Regions from separate parts of the Homo sapiens genome. Here all the other regions are linked to region 1. The links are contacts of gene promoters, found by promoter capture Hi-C in blood cells and fetal thymus (Javierre and others, 2016). All regions are on one chromosome and are shown on one strand. The core of a region is centred on a gene start or on the middle of the fragment in contact, and the rest is flanking DNA. Distances in the headings are between cores, read along the strand shown.

Evidence for each region. Contacts are between HindIII fragments. The CHiCAGO score rates a contact against its expected background, and 5 or more counts as called.
Region 2: a contact is called between a fragment that was not itself captured here and the fragment with the promoter of GATAD2B in region 1, in 1 of 17 cell types (total B cells). The highest score is 7.2, in total B cells.
Region 3: a fragment that was not itself captured here is called in contact with the fragment with the promoter of GATAD2B in region 1 in 6 of 17 cell types (total B cells, activated CD4 T cells, total CD8 T cells and 3 more); the score reaches 8.5 in total B cells.
Region 4: a contact is called between a fragment that was not itself captured here and the fragment with the promoter of GATAD2B in region 1, in 4 of 17 cell types (total B cells, total CD8 T cells, naive CD4 T cells and 1 more). The highest score is 7.0, in total B cells.
Region 5: a fragment that was not itself captured here is called in contact with the fragment with the promoter of GATAD2B in region 1 in 3 of 17 cell types (naive B cells, total B cells and monocytes); the score reaches 6.4 in naive B cells.
Region 6: a fragment that was not itself captured here is called in contact with the fragment with the promoter of GATAD2B in region 1 in 1 of 17 cell types (total B cells); the score reaches 5.8 in total B cells.
Region 7: a contact is called between the fragment with the promoter of SNAPIN here and the fragment with the promoter of GATAD2B in region 1, in 1 of 17 cell types (M2 macrophages). The highest score is 5.2, in M2 macrophages.

Annotation. Positions count from the first base shown.
Region 1 is chr1:153,920,995-153,924,513 of GRCh38, forward strand. GATAD2B (GATA zinc finger domain containing 2B) reads right to left here and starts at 1,978. Exons shown (of 11, transcript NM_020699.4): 1 at 1,739-1,978. It overlaps LOC101928059 (a long non-coding RNA gene), which reads left to right and starts at 2,379. Exons shown (of 4, transcript XR_922160.3): 1 at 2,379-2,968. RefSeq lists silencers at 1,762-2,081, 2,759-3,053 and an enhancer at 2,212-2,451. The HindIII fragment of the contact is 8,959 bases long and covers 332-3,519 here.
Region 2 is chr1:153,583,673-153,587,191 of GRCh38, forward strand. No RefSeq gene overlaps it. Among named protein-coding and RNA genes, the nearest start is that of S100A2, 20 kb to the left of the region's middle. RefSeq lists an enhancer at 1-335. The HindIII fragment of the contact is 198 bases long and covers 1,544-1,741 here.
Region 3 is chr1:154,257,761-154,261,279 of GRCh38, forward strand. UBAP2L (ubiquitin associated protein 2 like) reads left to right here. Exons shown (of 27, transcript NM_014847.4): 21 at 1,217-1,270; 22 at 2,188-2,269; 23 at 3,132-3,349. It overlaps SNORA58B (small nucleolar RNA, H/ACA box 58B), which reads left to right and starts at 1,967; the gene lies at 1,967-2,102. The HindIII fragment of the contact is 872 bases long and covers 1,016-1,887 here.
Region 4 is chr1:154,234,314-154,237,832 of GRCh38, forward strand. UBAP2L (ubiquitin associated protein 2 like) reads left to right here. Exons shown (of 27, transcript NM_014847.4): 5 at 278-446; 6 at 883-978; 7 at 2,253-2,298; 8 at 2,711-2,823. Among named protein-coding and RNA genes, the nearest start is that of UBAP2L, 15 kb to the left of the region's middle. The HindIII fragment of the contact is 7,636 bases long and covers 1-3,519 here.
Region 5 is chr1:153,638,703-153,642,221 of GRCh38, forward strand. All of the region lies in intron 3 of CHTOP (chromatin target of PRMT1), which reads left to right. Among named protein-coding and RNA genes, the nearest start is that of CHTOP, 6.4 kb to the left of the region's middle. The HindIII fragment of the contact is 1,256 bases long and covers 1,007-2,262 here.
Region 6 is chr1:154,206,323-154,209,841 of GRCh38, forward strand. LTAP1 (lipid transport auxiliary protein 1) reads right to left here. Exons shown (of 7, transcript NM_001098616.3): 7 at 398-1,326. The coding sequence ends at 1,131. It overlaps CFAP141 (cilia and flagella associated protein 141), which reads right to left and starts at 11. Exons shown (of 4, transcript NM_001010979.3): 1 at 1-11. The HindIII fragment of the contact is 1,373 bases long and covers 851-2,223 here.
Region 7 is chr1:153,657,120-153,660,638 of GRCh38, forward strand. It overlaps SNAPIN (SNAP associated protein), which reads left to right and starts at 1,584. Exons shown (of 4, transcript NM_012437.6): 1 at 1,584-1,767; 2 at 2,019-2,065; 3 at 2,329-2,447. The coding sequence starts at 1,625. RefSeq lists an enhancer at 1,350-1,429. The HindIII fragment of the contact is 14,460 bases long and covers 1-3,519 here.

The DNA.
Region 1 (3,519 bases), core at 728-3,227:
AACAAGTGTGGGCCTTCCCTCAAAATATACTGAACTCCTCCATAGCACCTCCAGAAGTGGCCTCCTTCCCAACTAAGTACTGACAGAAATACTACTCTAGGACAATACTTGAAAGGCTGCTCCAGCACCAAAATAAGAATCCAAGTTATCAGACTGCAAGGAAGAGTTCAGGTCAGCATACCAAATGAAAAGCAATAAAGTTAGCACTAAACTCCCAAACAGGATAATCACCAACAACATATAGGCACCATGCTGCTGCCAGAAAACATCAAAGTCATCTGTGCTAGGAGGGGAAGGAGACTAGATGGCTGGAGGACAGAGATGGGAAGGAAGCTTACTTTTCACTTTGTACAACCACATGCATGCTTTTCTACTCAAAATATAAATTTTTAGAAAAAATGTCCTAAAAACTACAAAAGCATCAGCTCTTCTCCAACACAGATCTGTTAAACCTGTTTTAATTCCATCAGCTACAAATCCAAATCCCTCTTTTGCAGTCTGGCCTGAAAACACTGCTCTTGCCCTTTGCTGAAATATATTAAGTATCCTTCGCCTCTGCTGAAATGTATTAAGTATCCCCCCATCTCTCTCTCTCTCTTACACACACACACACGCACACACACACGCCCCCCAAATAAGCATTTATCAGAAATGAGAAAACTGGTTCTCAGGAGGCTACCTGATTTTCCAGGGGACAACAGAGAAAAGGTTGCTAGCTAGCTCAGTTAGCATCCACATGCCACCCACCACCAAGCCTCCATCTCCACCTCACTGCCAGCCCTATGAGCTAACATCTTGTGTTTGGAAGTTGATGCTGGGGAAGAATCCAAAGAGGCTACCATACCTTTATGAAACGGGAAAGCTGTACCGGGCGCGCGAATGGCACCTGAACCTCTGCACTCGCATGAGTGGCTCGCTCCTCAATGTAATTGAGAGCAGGGAGGCCAAAAGTACTCTAAGTCCCGGTGTGGTTAGGGAAGGGTAAGTTCCACCGACCCTCAGGAACTGAACTGGAAGACAGATCCAGTGTGTCCCACAAGCCCAGTCGCTGTAGAAGCTAAGTGCCCACATAGCCTGAGACAATTCTCTTCCCCTACGGGAGGGCGAGCGAACGGTGGACGACGAAATAAAGGGGTAAGGTTATGCGCTCCTGATCCCTTTCCCTAAATAAAGATAATTATCTGGTGCTTCCTTTACCCTTAGATTCCCCATTCGTCCCATCCGCCCGCAAACACAAGACTGAGCAGGGAGCGGCCCCCGCACCCTGAGGGCACCACTGGGGGTGGAGAGAGTTAAAAAAAAAAAGGGGGGGGCGCGCTAGAGAGGAAAGGAGGGGAGCATGGCGGGCATGAGGCAGGGAGTGAAAGCGGGGATGGCGGGGGAAACGGGGCGTGAGGGAGGGGAGAAAGAGTACAAGGAGACGAAATGAAGGGACACGAGCTGGGGGCGCGCGAGGCCGAAGTGAAAGACCGGGTCGCGCGCGCCAAGGGGGGAGAGGATGAGGTGAAGAAGGAGCGCGAGGCGGGGGCGCGCCGTGCCGGGGTGGGGGGAGGGGGACGCAAGGCGGGGGCGCGCGGGCGGGCGTCGGCTCGCGGGCGCTTCCCCTCCCCCCGCCCCTCCACCTTTCCCTTCCCCCACCTCCGCCACCACTGCCTCCTCCCAGCCTCCTTCCCTTCCTCGCTCCTCACCGCCCCCGGGCGGGCGGGCGGCCAGGCTGGCCTAGGCCAAAGCTCCTCACCTGGCGGTGGCGGTGTAACTCCCGGCTAGCTCGCCTCCTCAGGCGGCGGCGGAGGCGTCGAAAAAGGAAGAGGCGACGGCACAGGGGATCCAGACCCTGCTGACGGGACTAGGGACGGGGGTAGGGGAGGGGGGCGGGCCGGACCGGGGCGGGCGGGCGGAGCAGACACTGCGGTACAGACGGGGGCAGCGGCGGCGGCGACGGCTGCACCGGCGGCGGCGGCACCACACAAACAAGGACGCTGATTGGGCAGCTGCCAAGCGCCTCGGCTCCGCCTTACCCACACGCCACGACGCCCATTGGGCGACCTAAGCCGGCCACCCCGCCCTCATCTTCTCGGCCATGCCAGTAGAAGACTAGATGCCGGGACTTCACCCCACCCTTGAAGAATGAGTGGCCGGAGAAGTGATGATTGGCGTGCTTAAAACCCAATCATAAACGGAGGAGGGGGGATGGTCTAGCGGGGGCGCGTTAATGGGTACCTCTGCCAGTCCCAGACACATCCGGGTCTTCGACAGCCCATTAAGTGTCGGGGGTCAAAAAATCGCTTCAGGCTGCAACTTTACCTTAGAGACGTTTTGGTCCCCAGGCAGCCGCCGTACCCCAGTCTCTCCAAACCGGGATTCCCCTTTGGCCATCTCTCATTCTTTCAATTCTAAAGATGGAGACTGGCGAACGGCGATGGGGTCTGCGGTGGGCGGTGTTTCGTCGCGACAGACTCTAGGAAATTTCACGATAGAACTAGCTTTAGGCGCTTGAGCCTTGCCGTCTTTTTGGGGTGTGGCCTGTCTCCGTCTGCCAAAGGCTTTGAGCTTCCTGGTGTTCATCGTACCTCCGCTTGGTCCTGTCGTGACTAAACCACGACAGCAGGAAAAAAAAAAAAGCAGCTAGCCAAGTTGCTGAGGAATTACGGTGTGCAGAGCCCTCGCAGCTCCTTCTCTTGGGAACTCCTGGTCTGGTTAGGTTCTCAGCGAGGAAACAGCCTCCCACCCCGCCCGATTCCACCTAATTAACTCAAGGGCCAGCTCCTTTTGCTGGCCTCCCTGCTTCCACGGAGCAGTTAGGCCCGCCTAAACTCAGCGAGCGTTTCTGGAGCACCTTGAGGATAGGGACCAAGTAACAGAGTCCGGGTGTTAAGGTTATGATAGTAGTTAACGTTTTTGGAAAGAGACTGTGTCAGGCTCTGTGCTAAGAACTTTACATGAAGTATTTATTCCTCATGACTGTGAGGTAGGTACTGTTATCCCTACTTTACAAATGAGGAAAATTAGGATCAAAAAATTTGTCCAGTTACACGTTAAGTGGTAGAGCTGAAATTTGAACCCAAGTAGATGAGGAAACTAAGGCTCAGAGAGGTTAAGTAACTTGCCAAAGGTCAGACCGCTAGTTAGTGACTAAGCAGTGGTTTAAACCCAGAAACAACTGGTTCCACAGGCATTTTGTTATTGTTGTTTTCTCACTGTGTCTCCCAGGCTGGAGTGCAGTGGTACAATCTCAGTTCCTGCAACCTCCGCCTCCCAGGTTCAAACGATCCTCCTGCCTCAACAGCCTCCCGAGTAGCTGGGATTACAGGCGCGCGGCTAATTTTTGTGTTTTTAGTAGAGACGGGGTTTCGCCATGTTGGCCAGGCTGGTCTCGAACTCCTGACCTCAGGTGATCCTCCTGCCTCAGCCTCCCAAAGTGCTGGGATTACAGGTGTGTGAGCCACCACGCCAGCCTCCACAGGTATTTGAACATGTTTTTTAAATTATTTAAAAGTCATGCTGTGCAATGGAAATGAA
Region 2 (3,519 bases), core at 393-2,892, 340 kb before region 1:
GTTAAACAGATGCTTGAAGGCAGCATGCTCATTAAGAGTCAACACCACTCCCTAATCTTAAGTACCCAGGGACACAAACACTGCAGAAGGCCGCAGGGTCCTCTGCCTAGGAAAACCAGAGACCTTTGTTCACTTGTTTATCTGCTGACCTTACCTCCACTATTGTCCTATGGCCCTGCCAAATCCCCCTCTGCGAGAAACACCCAAGAATGATCAATTAAAAAATAAATAAATAAATAAATTTAAAAAAAAAAAAAACAAAAGTCAGCCAAAAAAAAAAAGAAAAAAAAATCATACAAACTTAAATTTCCAGAAAATAGAAAAAGGAAATACTGCCCATATGTGGCATATATAAAATAACCTTTATGGTAGAGACTGCTAATTGTCCTATTACCTATTCTCCCCTTGTCTTTCACAGCAAAAGAATCTTTGCTTTTAAGTTCAAATAAAGGCCACACTTCCCAGCCTTCCTTGCAGCTGAGTGTAGCCATATGACTAAGTTCTGGCCAAGAGAAGTAGAAATGGGGTATGCAAGTTTTGATTCATGCTCAAAAGTCAGAGACATGCCGTTTCTTCACCCTGCCACTTAGAAAGTACATGAGCTATTTGGACCATACGAACTAGGGGTGGTTAAGCAGAACCACCAAACCAGCCCTGGACCACCAACCTCCAGATAATACAGGACAGAAAAAAAAAACTTCCCTCTCATTCACGTCACCACTATTTTTGGTATCCGTTACATACAGCCAAACCCATGTACCAAGCAGATCATCCTACATACCAACACCAGAAATGTATCGTATGAGAAAGGAAAATTGAGACCCAATCTCACTTATGATTATAGATGCAAAATCCTAAATAAACTGTTAGCAAATGGAATCAAGTATTATACTTAAGAAAAATTATGACTAAGTTGGGTTTATGTCATGATTGCAGGGATGACTTTAACATTAGAAAATACATTAATGTAAGTCTCCACATTAAGAGATTAAAAATTAAAACCATATGATGATGCCAGAATAAATTCAATACCCATTTATAATAATAACGCTTAATAATCTAGGAATAGAAAGGAACATCTTGACCAACAAGCAAAAACCTACTGCAATCTTATTTTTTTTTTTTTAGTGGGGTTTCACCACGTTGCCCTCACTGGTCTCAAACTCCTGAGCTCAAAGGATCCACCTACCTCGGCCTCCCAAAGTGCTGGAATTACAGGCATGAGCCACCACACCCAGCCTGCAATCTTATTCTTAACATTAAATTATTCTTAACAGTAAATGAATGAACAGTAAATGCTTTAAAATTGTTCCTGTTAAAGTCAAACACAAGGAAAGGATTCTTGCTATTATCACTTTATTCAACATTAATTTGAAGGTTCTGACCATTACACTAAGGAAAACATTTTTTCAAGGTCTAAGGATTGGAAAAAAACAAGGATATGATACAATTGCCTCCAGAGAAGAAACAAGCAGGGCAAAACACAAGGCCTATCAGGATAAAAAGCTGATGCAAGTAAGTCGGGGGCTGATCTGAGGCAACAAGCTTCCTCCCACTGCAAATCCACAGAGCTGGAGGTTTAAATCCAGGGAGACTGCCTTTTCCCAGAGCTGCTTTTTATTTTTTTATTTTTTTATTTTTTTTCCACATGTATGAGTGAATATTTTATTTTTTTATTTTGTATATATATAGATAGATTTTTATTATACTTTAAGTTCCAGGGTACATGTGCACAACATAAAGCTTAAAGGCAAATTCCCATCCAGGATGTTGCCCAGCGGAATGACCGCAAACAAAATGGTGACACTAGTTCTGCAGTGCCTTTGGCTGTCCACACTGAGGATTTCCCCCAATACCTCCAGATGCAGTAGCTGAGAACAACCCCCACTCCAGCCCAGGAAACACAGGCTCACAAGCCAAAATCACCAGAACCTGAGATGTACAGAAATTGTAACAAAATACCCCCCAAAAAGACCAACATGAACCATTTGAAGCATAGTTATTGAAACTGGTAGACCAAAAAGTTAAATTAAGGTAATAAAATCCTCAAAAAGATAAAGGAGAGATTAGTGATAGAAATAAAAACAAGAAGTCATAAAAAAATAACTGTCCAGGCGCAGTGGCTCACGCCTGTAATCCCCGCACTTTGGGAGGCAGAGGCGGGCAGATCACAAGGTCAAGAGATCAAGACCATTCTAGCCAACATGGTGAAACCCCGTCTCTACTAAAAATGCAAAAATTAGCCGGGTGTGGTGGTGTGAGCCTGTAATCCCAGCTACTCAGGAGGCTGAGGCAGGAGAATTGCTTGAACCCAGGAGGCAGAGGTTGCAATGCACCAAGATCGTGCCACTGCACTCCAGCCTGGGTGACAGAGTGTCAATAAAATAATAATAAAATAAAATAAAGAGCATAATCATTGGGAAAAATAAAAGATGGCTACAACTGGAGAATAAATGGATGAGCTAAATGATCAGACTGAGAAACTCTCCCAGAAGGCAGAAGTAGAGAACAAAGAGAATATTTTTAAAGGAGCTAAGTGCTATGGAGAATAGAAGTAGAGTGCTCATATCAGGATAACAGGATTCCCCAGACAGGGAATTAAAAAAAAAAAAAACAGAGAGGAGGAAATAATGAAGTAATAACATTGAAACACTTCTGAGAATTAGAGAAAAAGATCTCAGATAGAAAGGGCTCATAGAATGCTAAATAGGGTAACTGAGGAAAAAAACACATTTAGACTCATATTGAAGTGGAAGAAGATCAAATTCAATTAAAACTCTGAACATTTCCAAAAGCAATAGATTGCCTACAAAGGAATTGAGAAGTAGGTCCGTTGTGCACTGGTTTCAACCTGTCTGAGTCAAGTTAAACAGACACACACAGACACACTCAAGTTACATGAAGCAGGTTTATTACTTACAGATTGAAAGCAGGGGACAACAGAAGCCTCAGATTCATGGCAGGCTGGTACCCCAAGGCTCAGAAAAGCTGCCCAGGAACTACCAGTCATACTGGATTAGAAAAAGAGGAAAAAAAGAAAAAAGAAAAGCTGCCCAGGGCAGATGGAGTCTCAGTTACATGTGCCCCACTTGCATCTCAGCTGAGGGACTCCAAAAAGCATCCTAAGGCTGGGCATGGTGGCTCACGCCTGTAATCCCAGCACTTTAAGAAACTGAGGCAGGAGGATTGCTTGAGGCCAGCAGTTTGAGACCAGCCTGGGGAATATAATGAGACTCCATCTCTAGAAAATAAAAAACAGGCCAGGCGCGGTGGCTCATGCCTGTAATCCCTGTAATCCAACACTTTGGGAGGCCAAGGCAGGCGGATCACCTGAGGTCAGGAGTTTGAGACCAGCCTGGCCAACATGGTGATACTCCCATCTCTACTAAAAATACAAAAAAATTAGCTCGATGTGGTGGTGGGCACCTGTGATCCCAGCTACTTGGGAGGCTGGGGCACAAGAATCGCTTGAACACGGGAGACAGAGGTTTTAGTGAGCAGAGATCGGGCCACTGCACT
Region 3 (3,519 bases), core at 202-2,701, 340 kb after region 1:
AAATACTAAACTGAGGCCAACCCATCTATTGTGTATCTGCTTTGGTTTATGGTGCACACATGTATGCATGTGTGTGTGTGCGTACAATGTGTATGTATATGTGTGATGAGAATATCTGCCCTGTTTGAAACACAGCTTCTGGGCCTCAGAAGCCAAAGGCCAGAATGTTCATCTGGAATCCTTTTTGGTTTCTTAGATAATTATGACTATTATTTTATTTTTTGAGGCAGATCTTGCTCTTTTACCCAGGTTGGAGTACAGTGGAACGATCATAGCTAGCTCACTGCAGCCTTGAACTCCTGGGCTCAAGCAATCCTCTCACCTCAGACTCCCCAAGTAGCTAGGACTACAGGTGTGCATCCCCATGCCTGGCTAAGTTTTAAAAATTTTTTTAGAGACAGGGTCTTCCTATGTTGCCTAGGCTGGTCTCAAAATCCCAGGTTCAGACAGTCCTCCTGCCTCAGCCTCTCAAATAACTGGGGTTATATATAGGCCTGAGCCACTACTCCTGGCCCCAAGAATTATTTTCTCTGATTTGATTAAATCCCTAACTCTGAGTGTGTTTGCTGGTCTGGCCTGGTTAGAGGAAAGTTTCCTGACTCAATCTGGGACTTTGAGAATAAGTGGCTGACATTAGTAGCTTTTTGCCCTAGTGTATCTTCTGTGACCTTCAAGTATTTGGTACCTATTAAGATGAAGGATATATGGAAACGTTTTAGAAGATACCTGTTCCTGCCCTCATAGACAAAGTCTAGATAAATTTCATACCGATGACACATCCAAATAACACAGTTACACATTTTTAATTTGTGGTCACTACCTTAAAACCCTGACATTGGAGAAAAGTGAAGTATTCTTTCCAGAGGAGATTATTTTTAAGCCAGATTTTGAAGAGTATAAGAGACAGAGACTTGTAGAATAGAGAGTAAAACTGGTTGTTCGTGTATGTTTTGTGTCTACTCTATTGGTATCAAGAAGCCAGCCTACTAGAATCAGTAGTATTTAGCTCAAGGAAAGCTTCAAGACCTTTCATGAATCATTTAATCTCTGTGTACTTTACTGCTTTTTCCTTAAATAAAATTGAAGGAAATAATCCGTGTCCTGTTCTAACCCAGAATGAGGATGAATGTTCTGTTGAATTAGCTTGTCTCTTGGCTCCTTGTTTTGCTAACATCATGACCAGTTCCTGTTATTGCTATATGTCTGTATCTTTCAGCCACAAGTATATGGTTATGATGACTTGCAGATGCTTCAGACAAGATTTCCATTGGTGAGTATGTGGGATAGAGCTTTGGAAAAGAAAGTAGTCTTAAAATTAGTGTTGGGAGAATTATCTCCGTCACAGACATAGCTCTTTCCCATCCCAGCCCTCCATACACTCTGATTTAAGGCATATTAGAATATAGGGATTTGGGGGAGGGTTTCCAACAGAAGATAACTTTTTTTTTTGAGACAGAGTCTTTCTCTGTCGCTCAAGCTGGAGTGCAGTGGTGTGATCTTGGCTCATTGCAACCTCCGCCGCCTGGGTTAAAGCAATTGTCTGCCTCAGCCTTCCGAGTAGCTGGGATTAAAGGTGCCCACCACCACCCCCAGCTAATTTTTTTTGTATTTTTAGTAGAGGCGGGGTTTCACCATCTTGGCCAAGCTGGTCTTGAACTCCTGACCTTATGATCCACCCGCCTCTGCCTCCCTAAGTGCTGAGCTTATAGGCATGAGCCGCCGCACCCAGCCTTTTTTTTTTCTTTTTTTAAATCAGAGTTGTGGCATCTTAGTAAATACATTTTAACCTATTCTATAGCCCAGTAAAGTACTCTGGAGCACTCAGGGTGCTTTCTGTTTGTCCCAGACACTTTAAATTATCGAATGATCTGTTTTCTCAGTAGAATAAGCTTGGTATAAACTGATAGGGATGACACCTAGAGGGTTGAAAATATTGGTCCTCGTGGACTTTGATGTATTCTCAAGTGGGCATACCCGTAGACCTTGTCTGACTGTGCTCATGGCCAGGCAGGGGGGACAGTGTATGCAAGAGTAATGTGGAGTTTGTGCTAACTCTAGCCAGCTTAATTAGTGACTGGATAAATTGCACAACTCTCACATTCTTCTGTTTTTTCCTCCGTGGAAATAGTACTCATGCTGGGGAATGAGTGACATTGAATCTCTGCTCTTTTTTCCCCTCTTTTCTAGGATTACTACAGCATCCCATTTCCCACACCCACTACTCCGCTGACTGGGAGGGATGGTAGCCTGGCCAGCAACCCTTATTCTGGTAGGATTGGGATGGGACTAAATAAATAAAAAGGGAGATAGTGTTGGGATTGATGGCAGACACCTGATTGGTAGCAAGAAGGGATGTGATAAATCAGGATTGGTAGATTCAAAATCCTGCTAAAGTTGGGCATGTCATGGCTTTTCCTATTCATCCCACTTTGTGTTGTCTCCCTGTGATTTCTAGATGATATCTTAGCCAGGCATGGTAGCACACACTTGTAGTCTCAGCTACTTGGGAGGCCAAGGTGGGAGAATTGCTTGAGCCCAGGAGTTCAAGACCAGCCTGGGCAACATAGCAAGACCCCATCTCCAAAAAAAGTGATATCTTGACTTAGTTTCAAGCCATTTGCTAGCTTTTTCCAGGAAATACAGTGGTTGAGGTGGTCTTCTCTGCTCATCTCTGCCCCTTTATGCTACTACTCACAGTGGCAATCTCACTGCCTTGCCACTCCTTCTTTTACCTGACCTATCATTGTCCTCATTGACTTACCGTTTTCCCTGATCCATCGTTGTCCTTCAAGTCCAGCATGGGGTATTCCCCATGGAGGAGAAGAGGGGAGGGAAGAAGAGGGAAGATGAAAGAGAACACAAGTGGGCAGAGAAATTGTGCAGGTGCCTTATTCCAAGAGCCTCCTGCCATAGCATTGCACAGTTATTCAACATTAGTCCTTGACTTGCAGCAACTGTGCTAAGTGTATGCTGAGCAACAATAATTGGAGCCACTAAGAAATGTAATTCAAGGAATTGAACTTTAATAGTCTTTGAACAGGATCTCCTGGAATCATGTGAAATCAGAAGAGGTAATTCTGTATTGGTATTGGGGTGAAAGAGGCAGGTACATTTAGCTTCTCCTGTCACAGGTGACCTCACAAAGTTCGGCCGTGGGGATGCCTCCTCCCCAGCCCCGGCCACAACCTTGGCCCAACCCCAACAGAACCAGACGCAGACTCACCATACCACGCAGCAGACATTCCTGAACCCGGCGCTGCCTCCTGGCTACAGTTACACCAGCCTGCCATACTATACAGGGGTCCCGGGCCTCCCCAGCACCTTCCAGTATGGGCCTGCTGTGTTCCCTGTGAGTACCTGGCTTTGGTCACTCCTTGTGGTGAAGGATCCTAGCCCTGGACACTATCCTAGCTGCTTTTAAGGGTCAATGACTTTAATAATGGATGAGGAGGAACAGTTTCCACCTCTGGCCTGTTTTTGGCCTGATGCAGGGTGGTGGGGGAATGGGGCTGGAATTGG
Region 4 (3,519 bases), core at 747-3,246, 310 kb after region 1:
GATCACACCACTGCACTCCAGCCTGGGCAACAGAGCGAGACTCTGTCTCAAAAATAAATAAATAAATAAATATAAATAAATAAAAAATAAAGGACTTTACTTTTTGTAGTGATATGTATAAAATATTTAAACAGAAGTAAAAGCAAACTAATGGAAGTGTTTTAGACATGGATGCTGAGTGGAGAATGGTTAAGTCAATCAGTCATCCCAGCTTTCATCTCTAGTGTCCTGATAGCACTCCATATTGATTAGATATGAATGCTCTACCCTTCTATAGCATTCCTGGGAGATGGTCGGGAAGAAGAAGGGAGTCTCAGGCCAGAAGGATGGTGGCCAGACGGAATCCAATGAGGAAGGCAAAGAAAATCGAGACCGGGACAGAGACTATAGTCGGCGACGTGGTGGGCCACCAAGACGGGGGAGAGGTGCCAGCCGTGGACGAGAGTGTATGCATGGGGCTTTATCAAAACCAGCTGTGGGTCAGTAATGTCTAGACTCTAGGGATGTGCCAGGGCCCTGCTAGTCAGGACCTAGGAACCATTATATTATCCTTTTGCTTTTCTTGCCGTCGTCTGTTCTGAGACCTTGACATCTCTTGCATGTGGCCTTTTCTACCAACTGCCACCAGTCTGGCATGAGATTACCCTGTAGTCATTTATAAAGTTAAATTTGACTTGCAGCTCTCCATTAAGGCACATTACCATTCCCTGAGAAACATGTTCCCATCCTTCCAGCTCATTTTCTCTTCGTTGTTTTTTTAATTCCCAATACCATATTACATACCATTTATATATTTGTATATATCCTGTTGACTGTGCTCTGGCCATCTGTGGTTTGGTTTTTTTGTTGTTGTTGTTGTTTTAATTTTTATTTTTATTTCAGTTCGAGGTCAGGAAAATGGATTGGATGGCACCAAGAGTGGAGGGCCTTCTGGAAGAGGAACAGAAAGAGGCAGAAGGGGCCGTGGCCGAGGCAGAGGTGATCAGTTTGTTGGGGGATGGATATTGGGGGCAGGTTACTCTTTATTCATTAATGGTCTGCTTTATTTTTTTTTTTTATTGGAGGTAGTCTCACTCTCACCCAGGCCGGAGTGCAGTGGCACAGTCATAGCTCACTGCAGCCTCAGACTCCTGGGCTCAAGTGATCCTCCTGCCTCAGCCTCCCTAGTAGCTAAGACTACAGGTGGCCGCCAGTATGCCTGGCTAATTTTTTTTGAGATGGAGTCTCGCACTGTCACCCAGGCTGGAGTGCAGTGGCGCGATCTTGGCTCACTGCAACCTCTGCCTCCCGGGTTCAAGCGATTCTTCTGCCTCAGTCTCCCAAGTAGCTGGGATTACAAGCGTGCGTCACTACGCCCAGCTAATTTTTGTATTTTTAGTAGAGATGGGCTTTCACTACATTGGCCAGGCTGGCCTCGAACTCCTGACCTAAAGTGATGCGCCCGCCTCGCTAATTTTTAAATGCTTTTGTAGAGATGGAGTCTCAATATGTTGCCCAGGGTGGTCTCAAACTCCTGGCTTCAAGAGATCTTCCTGCTTGGCCTCTCCAAGTGCTGAGGTTATAGGTGTGAGAGACAGCACTTGGCTCCAGGGTCTACTTTGTTTAAAAACAAATTAACATGAAGTCTAGTTAGTTAATTCCTGAGGTGTCATGCATATACTAGAGATTGCAGAAGGGGAGAGTGAGAAAGAAGGTAGATGTCATTTCCTCTAGTCTTTATTGCTAGTATTGTATTTGCTTGAGGACATGGTAGTCTGAGAGCAAAAGAAAAATCTCTCAACAGTAATGATTGTCCTACTCTATTACTGATGTGTAACATGGGACAGAGAGAAAGAACATCTGATAGTATCAACCACTTTTTATTCCAGAGCTGCCTCAGCTGGCAGGGTAGTTTTTTGTATTTTTGAGGCAAGGTTTCACTGTCACCCAGGCTGGAGTGCAGTAGTGCGGTCTTAGCTCACTGTAGCCTCTGCCTCCTGGATTCAAGTGATCCTCCTGCCTCAGCCCCTCAAGGAGCTGGGACTATAGGTGTGTGCCACCACACTCAGCAAATTTTTGTACTTTTTATAGAGATAGGGTTTTGCTCTATTGCCTAGGCTGGTCTCGAACTTCTGGATGCAACCAATCCGCCCGCCCTCAGCCTTTCAAAGTGCTGGGATTACCACCGGGAGCCACTGTGCCTGCCTGGCAAGGAAGTTTTATATCAACTTCTAAAATACATCTCTCTTCTCTTTTTCTCATTCTTTCTTTAGGTGGCTCTGGTAGGCGAGGAGGAAGGTTTTCTGCTCAAGGAATGGGGTAAGTTTCATTGATCTAGTGTCTTAATTTTTTTTCCCTTAAAAATTACTGTAGGCAGCCTTAACCAAAATGATCAGAATGATTTCTAGACTGGTCAGAAAGATATGGGGACTTAGGGCTCATTTCTTAGGGATAAACCTTTACCACCTGGATCATTACCTATATTTTATATATCTTTATTTGAATCAATATACCTGTTCTTTTCTCAGAATATCTTAGATATATGTTGAGATTATACCATGAAATTTTGGGTAGAGTGATAAGTGAGAAAAAGTAGATGACACACAGGATTATAGAATGGGGCCATGACAGATTTGTACTAGGAAGGATGCAGTCAAGATTTTGATTCTTTGAGTTAATATTTGCCAAAGCTGCTTAGAGGTCAGAGACTCTTAAGTTTTATTTTTTCCAGAACCTTTAACCCAGCTGATTATGCAGAGCCAGCCAATACTGATGATAACTATGGCAATAGCAGCGGCAATACGTGGAACAACACTGGCCACTTTGAACCAGATGATGGGACGAGTGAGTGACCATTTATCATTCATTTCTTGTCTCTGGGAATCTAAGGAAATAGTTTTTTCTGATTATACTTACATTAAAACGTGGAAGAATAGTGTTTGGTTATGGAGATAGGGTGAGAAAGGGCTGGCAGTTGTATTACTGTGTGTACTGTTTATGTAACGTGCATATGGGCACATTACACATGTTATTTCGCTTAATGCTGCTTGATATTGTATGAAATAATCATTATTTATCATCACTTTCCAGATGACAAAACTAAGGCCGAAAGAGAGGTTATAAATTTGCTAGTATTTGAACTCAGCATTGTTTGACCCTGAAAGTCCATGCCCTTTCAACTATGCTATGTCACTGCTATTAGGTCCAAGTGTATTTTCTAGTGTTTATGTTAGGGTAGTGTTGCCTTTTGAAAAGATAGCCAGAATTAATCAAGCCACTGCTTGTAAAGATGAACAAGGCCTAGAATCAAAGTCCACACTATCCATTTATTTGTTTTCTGTTACTGAGATAAGAATATCCTTTTTTTCCCTTTATTTTTGGGACATGTCAGTATCTGAACAAGAAGATTTCGAAATCTCTCTAGCCTTTCTGGTGCCCTGTTGAACAGCCTTCTTGGTGTGATGGAGTATTCAGGGTTTGAATAAGATTACTTTTTTGTTAACTGACTTTGGTGCCTGCGTCTGGGCTGGATATAAATGT
Region 5 (3,519 bases), core at 385-2,884, 280 kb before region 1:
TTTCTGATCCTTAACCCTTAACATAGATTAATGGCTTATTCCACAAAGAAACTTTATTTCAGCTTTAGATAATCTCACAGCATCCTTTACTCTCTGTTAAATGATTTACCCAACAGGGAAATAATTTTATTCTTTTTCCCATAGTGCAGGGAGTTTGCATGGCCTTAGTCAAAGGTTTTCTTTTTTTTTTTTTTTTTAGACGGAGTCTTGCTCTGTCGCCCAGGCTGGAGTGCAGTGGCACGATCTCGGCTCACTGCAAGCTCCGCCTCCCGGGTCCATACCATTCTCCTGCCTCAGCCTCCCGAACAGCTGGGACTAAAGGTGCCCGCCACCACACCCAGCTAATTTTTTTGTATATTTAATAGAGACAGGGTTTCACCATACTAGCCAGGATGGTCTCGATCTCCTGACCTCGTGATCCACCCGCCTCGGCCTCCCAAAGTGCTGGGATTACAGGCTTGAGCCACCGCGCCCAGCAGTCAAAGGTTTTCAATGCTAAAATATACAGAGTAGAGTGACCCTCATTTCCACAGCACCTAAAGTTTTACCAGTAAAGTGGAGCAAGAATACTGAGTAATTTGAGTTAGGGGTTCTCTTTTTCAAATTTACAGTGAGAGATAATCCTATTCAGACCTGAAATAAAACCTGCTCTTTATTATTCATAGAATTTATATGCAAGTCCGGACAGTGGCTGTGGAAGGATATGTCCAAGCTGTGGCTGGGCGTCTGGAGGGCAGTGCCATGCAACTGTAAGGGCTTTGGTAGCATTGCATGGCTATGCATAAATTCAGCAGTTAAATATAACACCCTTACACCCCCACCCTGAACCATTGGGCTCACTGACCAAAAATAAACAAGGGTGTCTGCTTCGGCTACCTTAAGCCTTGGAGTGACTGGATTCCTCCCTGACTCAGGAAAGCAGCAAAAGGCACCATTTTCCAAGAGTAAATGGAAGTTGCTGAAGATGAATCTCTGACAGATCATTCCAAAGGACCTTTCAACAAGAAGCTTTAAGTATAGGCTCTGCAGGAAGTAGTCCCTATCCAGAGTAGTACTATTAAATAGAATTTTTTTATGTTTTTGGTTTGGTTTGGTTTGGTTTGTTTTGAGACGGAGTCTTGCTCTGTCACCCAGGCTGTAGTGCAGTGGTGCAATCTCAACTCACTGCAGCCTCCGCCTCCCGGGTTCAAGCGATTCTCCTGTCTCAGCTACAGGCGCCCGCCACCACACCCGGCTAATTTTTGTATTTTTAGTAGAGACGGAGTTTTGTCATGTTGGCCAGACTGGTCTTGAACTCCTGACCTCAAGTGATCTGCCTGCCTCAGTATCCCAAAGTGTTCAGATTACAGGCATGAGCTACCGTGCCCAGCCAGAACTTTCTACAATGATGGAAATGTTCTGTATTTGCTCTCCGGTACAGTAGCCACTAGTCACATGTGGCTATTGAAAACTTTAAATGTGACTAGTGCAATTAAGGAGCTTAATTTTTTTTAATTTAATTTTAGGCCAGGCCTGTAATCCCAGCACTCTGGGAGGCCAAGGCAGGCGGATCACTTGAGGTCAGGAGTTTGAGACTAGCCTGGCCAATGTGGCAAAACCCCATCTCTACTAAAAAAAAAAAAAAGCCGGGCATGGTGGCGCATACCTGTAATCCCAGCTACTCAAGAGGCTAAGGAGAATCTCTTGAACCCAGGAAGTGGAGGTTGCGGTGAGTGGAGTTGGCACCACTGCATTCCAGCTTGGGTGACAGTGAGACTCTGTCTCAAGAAAATAAGTAAAATTTGCTTTTAATTTAGGCTGGGTATGGTGGCTCACACTTGTAATCCCAGCACTTTGGGAGGCCTGGGCAGGTGGATCACCTGAGGTCAGGAGTTCAAGACCAGCCTGGCCAACATGACAAGACCCCGTCTCCACCAAAAATAAGCCAGGCGTGATGACAGCTCCTGTAATCCCAGCTACTCGGGAGGCTGAGGCAGGAGAATTGTTTGAACCTGGGAGACGAAGGTTGCAGTGAGCCAAGATCGTGTCACTGCACTTCAGCCTGGGCAACAGAGCGAGACTGTATCTCAAAATAAAAATAATTGAAATAGCCACATGTAGCTATAGAGGCTGCCTTACACAGCACACCTCTAGAAGGGAAACTAAGTGGTATAGTTGACATCCTTAACTTCCCTGTTAATATTAAAGGCCGGTATTGGTGGCACTTAAGGATTGGAATGGGTAAAGAACTTCCCAGCACTGTACAGTTCTTTTAAAGCACAAAGCTTGGGAGAATTAATATATGCAGGATAACTGAACGCAAGAGACTTGTGGAATGCAGTTCTAACCTGATAATTGTGTGTTAATCGGGAGTAACAGGACAGGCCGTTACGGTTGGTTACACCTACTTATGCTAGATGCATAATGTTTGGAGCCTTCCCCACTGATGAGAAGCAATTTATGATCTTGTGCTAGAAAGTTAATAATGCTTCACAGCATCTTTTTGAGAGGTTGATTAGAAAACACACACATACACGTTGGTAGTCACTTGTGGGTGAAGCCTGAAGGGGCTATACAATTTATTTTCTTTCAGATTGACTGATGGCTTTATGGACAGCCAGGCTTACTAGGAGCTTGGTTGTGTTCAGGGCTATTGCTGTCCCTTTTTCCTTTGAAGGAATTTAATTCTCTGAGATGTAGTCTTAATGGTTTTCTTTTGAGAACAGATTCTTAAAAATACCCTATCTCTGTAGTGTGTCCTTGTTCTTATATATGGCCCTGAGTTTTGTGATCACCTGAATAATTCTAACATACGTTTGGCTGGCTGACTGTGGAGATACATTTGAGTTACATGTTTATTTTTAATTTAAGGTCATCATTGTTTTAAAGGAGCTGTTTGCAAGTGCAGGCATGGAATTAGGGATTTTTAAGAAATGTAAGGAAAGGAGATTTGACTTTCTTGTGTTTATTTACATCTTAAGGTAAAAAGTGGACCGTCTGGAAATAGATTCTCAGAGGAAAAATGGAGCACACGGGCCTTTTTGAGAAATCAATCTTGTTCTTAAGTCACAAGAACTCAAGTGAACTTGTAATTTAAGTTTTGCCCAGAGTGTGATGAACTTCCTATGGTGTTTGAGTAAGCCTTTGAAGACAGTGGTAGTCCATGGGCAGGTATGAATCAAGTCATATAATTGTCAACCTGTAGTTCAAAAGCAGTACAATCCAGGATTGAACTATAGAATGTTCTTACGAAAACTTAAGTTTCAACTGGCAGTGTATGACTTCTGTAGCCAAACTAGTGAGGTAATTTGTGGAGATGCCCATTTCATGGGACCACACTTGAGCTTCTTGGAGTTTCTGCTCTGGATCAAAATTCTGCTGCTTGTATAACATGTTCTGAGGCAAAGGCTTGCTTCTGGTTTGGGATCCTTTTGACACCCACAACAGGTTTATCTCCCTTCACACCAGCATCTCACTTGCTTCTTTTTCTCTGCACTTTGAGTTGCCAAATCCTGTTGGATTGCTTTTTTGATCTCAATC
Region 6 (3,519 bases), core at 287-2,786, 280 kb after region 1:
TGATACAGTCTGAGGAGACTGACAGGCTCCTCTGTTTAGTTCAGTAACCAAGGTTTCAGTAGTCATAGTAACATTTACACCTCCAACAATAACCCTGGGCCTAGGAGTTGATTGGCCACCTGGCCTGTTGCCCCAGAAACCTTGAGAGAATCCTTGTTCTGCAGCCTTCTGTTGGTGACACAGGCATCTATGAGCAAGGGCCACAGTCCTGATTTTAGGATTTCTTGTGCTAGGGTCCCAAGGAGTATGTGTATGGTCGTAGGTCCAGGGTATGCACACAGTCCCACCAATTCTCTGGAGGCAAATCCTCATGCCCTATACCCTGTTAGAAATGTGCAGATAACATTATCAAATGCCTGTTTTATTAAAAGACAACTATAAAGGACTGATTCATACGTTTTATTTGATAATAGTTCATTTTATTAAATAATTTATAAAGTCAGACCAGTGCATTGGGCTTGTTAGGGGAAACCATTCCTTCCTACTGTCACATAGCCTGGCAGATTATATCAGGTGCCAAAACATTCCCTTTTATTCAATTTATTAATGAGAGTGTGGAATTAAAGTAGATCCTTGCATGTCAGGAAAGCTGCAACACATCTGGTTTAAGTGGAGCACAAAGGTAAGTTATTCCACATTCACCAACTTCCCCACTTGACCTCCCACCAGTTCCTGTCTGCTTTTTCCATCAATCAACTCTAAGATGCCCTAAACCCAAACAGTTCCCATTCAACTGTGCACAAAGGTATAGATATGGAAGACATCTCACTCCAACTCTCACCTTTGGAATTAAATAAACCTGGAACAGGGAAGGTGAACTATGGCTGAAACCAAGTGAAGATTTTTAAGAAGCTTTGACAGAAACATTAAGAATAACACCTGAATGCAAATCCAGAAAAAAGCGCTACTGGGGGAAAATAGTCTTAGCCAATGTTCTAAAAATGCTCATAAGGAAGGGTTGGGGAATTACCCTTTAGACACAAGCTCTAAGAACTCTGGATACAACGGGAACTTGGATGGATACAGTCTGGGCCTGCTGGGCCAGATGTTCCGAGGGCGGCCCGGCAAGCAGCCTGTCTTGCACATTGCAACTGACTGGCTTAATCTACGGCAAGAGTCCTTCAGCTCCGTCACAGAGTACTCTCCAATGTGTTATAGTTATCCTTAAAGCTCTTCAATTCAAGGAAGTGCTTGGCACGTTTACTCTTCTGACTGGAGGGGAGGTATGTCACCTGGATGGTTGTTGGGGAGACCTCAGGGGACTGAGTTAGGTCTTTGGCTGCTGACTGGTGATGTCGCTGAGAGCTCCCAATTCGTGCTTTAACCCTGAAGAACAGAGAGGGGAGGTCATTGACAGAATGAGGACTAATCAAAGAAATCAGGGCTTATCCCAGGCCATAAATGCAGCAATAGTCACAAATAGTTATTTGTGTCCTATCTGTCCTATTTTGTAAACTAGTTACTAAAACCCCATCTAGTAGCTTAGAAATACAAGAGGCTGAGCGCGGTGGCTCACGCCTGTAATCCCAGCACTTTGGGAGGCCCAGGCAGGTGGATTGTTTGAGGTCAGGAGTTCGAGACCAGCCTGGCCAACATGGTGAAACCCTGTCTCTACTAAAAATACAAAAATTAGCTGGGAGTGGTGGCGGGTGCCTGTAATCCCAGCTACTCGGGAGGCTGAGGCAAGAGAATCACTTGAACCCAGGAGGCAGAGGTTGCAAGCCAAGATTGCGCCACTGCACTTCAGCCTGGGTGACAGAGCAAGACTCCATCTCAAAAAAAAAAAAAGTAGCAGAGAGGCTGGGCATGGTCACTTATACCTGTAATCCCAGCACTTCAGGAGGCAGAGGCCAGAGATCGCTTGAGCCCAGGGGAGTTTGAGACCAGTCTGGGAAACAAAGTGAGACCCTATCTCTGCAAAAAATTAGCCAGGTATGGTGGCAAGCACCTGTAGTCCTGGTTCCTCAGGAGGCTGAGGCAGGAGGATCGCTTGAACCCAGAATTCGAGGCTGCAGTGAGCCATGAATGTGCCACTGCACTCCAGTCTGGGCGACAGACTGAGACCCTGTCTCTCTCTCTCACACACACCCTAAAAAAGTAGCAGCACTCCAGCCTGGGTGACAGAATAAAGGCCCTGTTTGGGTACCCTGACACACACCTACTCATACCAAAAACAACTAGCAGCAGAGAAACCAATTTCCCAGAGTTCTTGCCTCTGGCTCAAGCTTTTTTTTCAGAGACAGGTATCCCCAATATAGGTATCACCTTGTTTTGCAGATTAGGAAACTAAGGGTCCAATAATTAGCTTGTATGAGGTCACAAAACTAGTTAAGTGACAGACCTGGGATTCAAACCTAAGTTTGTCAGATTTCAAAGCCTATACTCTTCACTAAACCCAATGAACATTCCTAGAAACTACAAATCAAACATAATTTTTTGTTTTTGAGATGGAGTCTTTTTCTCTGTTGCTCAGGCTGGAGTGCAGTGGCACAATCTTGGCTCACTGCAACCTCTGCCTCCTAGGTTGAAGCGACCTGTCTCGGCCTCCCGAGTAGCTGGGGATTGCAGGTGCATACCACAATGCCCAGCCAATTTTTCTATTTTTAGTAGAGACAGGGTTTCACCATGTTGGCCAGGCTGGTCTTGAACTCCTGACCTCAGGTGATCCACCCGCCTCAGCCTCCCAAAGTGCTGGGATTACAGCCGTGAGCCACCATGCCTGGCCTTCAGAAATAATTTTTAAAAAGATTGTGGTAAAATACATGTAACATAAAATTTACCATCTTAAGAATTTTTAAATGTATGGTTCAGTAGTGTTAAGTATATTCACAGTGTTGTGCAACCAACCTCCACATTTTCATCTTGCAAAACTGAAACTATACCCAGTGAACAACTCCCTATTTCCCCCACTCTCCAGCCCCTGCAACCATCATTCTACTTTCTGTCTCTGAGTTTGACTACCTAGGTATCTCATATAACTGGAATCATCTAGTATTTATCTTTCAAAGAAAGTGAATTTTGAACAGGCTTCTGCTGACTTCTAGACCAAATGCCCTTTTCCAGCCTTTCTACATGTTCATTTTCATCAGTGCTCTAAGCAGTTTTTTTTTTTTTTTTTTTTGAGACAGTGTCTCACTCTGTTGCCCAGGTTAGAGGGCAGTGGCATGATCTTGGCTCACTGCAACCTCTGCCTCCCAGGCACAAGTGGTACACGCACCTCAGCTCCTGAGTAGCTGGGACTACAGGTAGGTGGTCGCCACCACTCCCAGCTAATTTTTTTTCGAGATGGAGTCTTGCTCTGTTGCCCAGGCTGGAGTGCAGTGGCGCGATCTTGGCTCACTGCAAGCTCCGCCTCCTGGGTTCATGCCATTCTCCTGCCCCAGCCTCCCACGTAGCTGGGACTACAGGCACCCGCCACCACGCCCGGCTAATTTTTTTTTTTTTGTATTTTTAGTAGAGACTGGTTTTCACGTTAGCCAGGATGTTCCCGCTCTCCTGATTTCATGAACCGCCCGCCTC
Region 7 (3,519 bases), core at 334-2,833, 260 kb before region 1:
AGACTCGGTCTCAAAAAAAAATTTTTTTTAATTTTTATTTTTTGAGACAGGGTCTCACCCTGTCACCCAGGCTGAAGTGCATGCAGTGCCACGATCTTGGCTCACTGTAGCCTCAACTTCCTAGGCTCAAGGTCCTCCTACTTCAGCCTCCCAAGTAGCGGGGACCACAGCTGTGAGCCACCATGCCTGGCTAATTTTTTTTTTTTTTTTTTTTTTTGAGATGGAGTCTCGCTCTGTCGCCCAGGCTGGAGTGCAGTGGCGCGATCAGGGCTCACTGCAAGCTCTGCCTCCCGGGTTCACGCCATTCTCCTGCCTCAGCCTCCCGAGTAGCTGGGACTACAGGAGTCCGCCACTGCGCCCGGCTAATTGTTTGTATTTTTAGTAGAGATGGGGTTTCACCGTGGTCTCGATGTCCTGACCTCGTGATCCACCCGCCTCGGCCTCCCAAAGTGCTGGGATTACAGGCGTGAGCCACTGCGCCTGGCCGCCTGGCTAATTTTTTATTTCCTGTAGAGACAGAGTCTCACTAGGTTTGTTGCCCAGACTGATCTCGAACTCCTGGGCTCAGGTGATCCTCCCGCCTCAGCCTCCCAAAGTGCTGGGATTACAGGAGTGAGCCACCATGCCCTGCCTGCATGTTTATATTATTCAGCCTTAAAAAGGAATGAAATTCGGATACATGCAGTTTTTTACATATTTAATGCCATTAAAAATATACTCTTTAGAAATAGACCAGGCGTGGTGGCTCACGTCTGTAATCCCAGCACTTTAGGAGGCTGAGTTGGGAGGATCACCTGAGCCCAGGAGTTCGAGACCAGTCTGGGCAACAAACATAGTGAGACCTCTTCTCTACAGAAAATGAAAAATTAGTCAGGCATGGTGGCTAACACCTGTGGTCCCTGCTACTTGGGAGACTGAAGCAGGAGGACCTCTTGACCCCAGGAGGTGAAGGCTACAGTGAGCCAAGACGGTGGCACTGCACTCCAGCCTAGGCGACAGAGAGAGACCTTGTCTTAAAAACAACCAACCACAATAAACTCTTTAGAAATAGAAAACGATACTATGAATATAATGTGGCTTTCTCATAAAGTGTTTTTGTTTTTGGTTTGTTTTTGTTTGGTTTGGGTTGCTTTTTTTTTTTTTTTTTTTTTTTTTGAGGCGGAGTCTCTCTGTTGCCCAGACTGGAGTGCAGTGGCGCGATCTCGGCTCACTGCAATCTCCGCCTCCCGGGTTCAAGCGGTTCTCCTGCCTCAGTCTCCCAAGTAGCTGGGTGCCCGCCACCATGCCCGGCTATCTCATAAAGTTAACATGGGAAGGCTATGGACAACTGCAGGTATTCGCGTTTATTTTCACCTTTAAAGAAAACGAAAAGTATCCACTCCAAAAACTGGTTCCTTTCTACAACCTGAACTTTGGAGATTTTCAAGACCAGCCACAAGGCCTCTACTCCTACGGCCTGGCCCTCCTCCCCGCCCGGTTCGCGCTAGACTCCATTTCCCAGAAACCCCGGTGTCTTGGTGGAGACAGCATTTCCCGGGCGCCCCCTCACGGGGCGGGGCAGTGCGGCGCGGCTCCGGTTCCCGGCGGCCCTCGCGGCAGGTTTCGGGCTTCAGGACAATTCGTGATGGCGGGGGCTGGTTCCGCCGCTGTATCGGGGGCAGGGACCCCGGTGGCGGGGCCCACAGGCCGCGACCTTTTCGCCGAAGGGCTGCTGGAGTTCCTGCGACCCGCTGTGCAGCAGCTCGACTCTCACGTACACGCCGTCAGGTGCCCGGGAGGGAAGTTGGGGGCGGGGCCTGTCTCTCTGGCTTTGTAGGGGCGGGGCCAAGAAAGTGTTCTGGCTGGGAGTGGGCATAAATTTAGGAAACTGATTCGAGGCGGGGAGGACAGGCGGGAAGGCCGCAGGTGGAGGGTTCAGCGGAGGCCGGCTTCTCTCAGTACTTGGTAAATACGTAGGGGAGTTCGTTTCCTGAGCTCCGGTAACTGCCTGACCTTGTAGGCCTTGTACCTCTTTGCAGAGAGAGCCAGGTAGAGCTCCGGGAACAAATTGACAACCTAGCCACAGGTGAGTGAGCATCCCTGTGTACCCGGAATTCTTCAGCCCACTTTCAGGACCTTAGGTTTTTGCCAACCCCTGGGCTGAGTTTCTGTCACTTGCTTCCAGGGCATCAGGGCTGCCAAAGGACTCCTCCTTTCAGGGATGTCTTAAATCTCTAATGGCTGTGGCCCGTTTGGGTGCAAGTGTTTTCCATCCCATTACCAGCCTGCTTTCCCTCAGAACAAGAGATAAGCCGTTAGATCTTAGCTGCACCTTACTTCCATCCCCAGAACTGTGCCGCATAAATGAGGATCAGAAGGTGGCCCTGGATCTTGACCCCTATGTTAAGAAGCTACTTAATGCCCGGCGACGCGTTGTCTTGGTTAACAACATTCTACAGAATGCTCAGGTAAAAGAATATCTTACCAACAGTGATTCTTTGCCCTTTTTTGTAAGTCCTCAACACAGTGAAAGCCACTGTAATTTTAAAATTCTTTGGGGAAAGGGAAATTCACTTCTCCCAGTACTTGAAAAATACCTAGGAAAATTCGTCTCATTCTCACTATTCAGTTGCTGCCATTTACATTCTTGTGTGTGTGTGTGTGACAGTCTCCCTCTGTCACCCAGGCTGGAGTGCGGTGGCTCAATCTCAGCTCGCTGCAACCTCCGCCCCCTGGGCTCAAGCAATTCTGCCTCCGCCTCCCGAGTAACTAGGACTACAAGCGTGCACAACGCCCAGCTAATTTTTGTATTTTTTTGTAGAAGTAGGGTTTCTCCATGTTGCCCAGGCTGGTCTGGAACTCCTGGGCTCAAGTGAGCTTCCCACCTTGGCCACCCGAAGTGCTGAGACTACAGGAGTGAACCACCACACCTGGCTATTTATTTTTATGATACAAGGTCTATCACCCAGGATGGAGTGCAGTGGCATGATAAAGGCTCACTGCAGCCTCTACCTCCCAGGCTCAAGCGATCCATCCACCTCAGCCTCCCAAGTAGCTGGGACTACAGGCATGCACCACCATGTCCAGCTAATTTTTGTATTTTTTCTAGAGACAGGGTTTCACCATGTTACCCAGGCTGGTCCCAAACTCCTGCATGCGAGTGATCCACCTGCCTGGGCCTCCCAAAACGCTGGGATTACAGGCGTGAGCCACTGCACCCGGCCTGCCTGGCCTTTTTTTTTTTTTTTTTAAATAAAAAGACAGGATCGGCTGGGCGCGGTGGCTCTTGCCTGTAATCCCAGCAGTTTGGGAGGCCGAGGTGGACAGGTCACCTGAGGTTGGGAGTTGGAGACCAGCCTGACCAACATAGAGAAACCCCGTCTCTACTAAAAATACAAAATTAGCTGGGCGTGGTAGCGCATGCCTGTAATCCCAGCTACTTGGGAGGCTGAGACAGAAGAATCACTTGAGCCCGGGGGACGGAGGTTGCGGTGAGCTGAGATCGCACCATTGCACTTCAGCCTGGGCAACAAGAGCGAA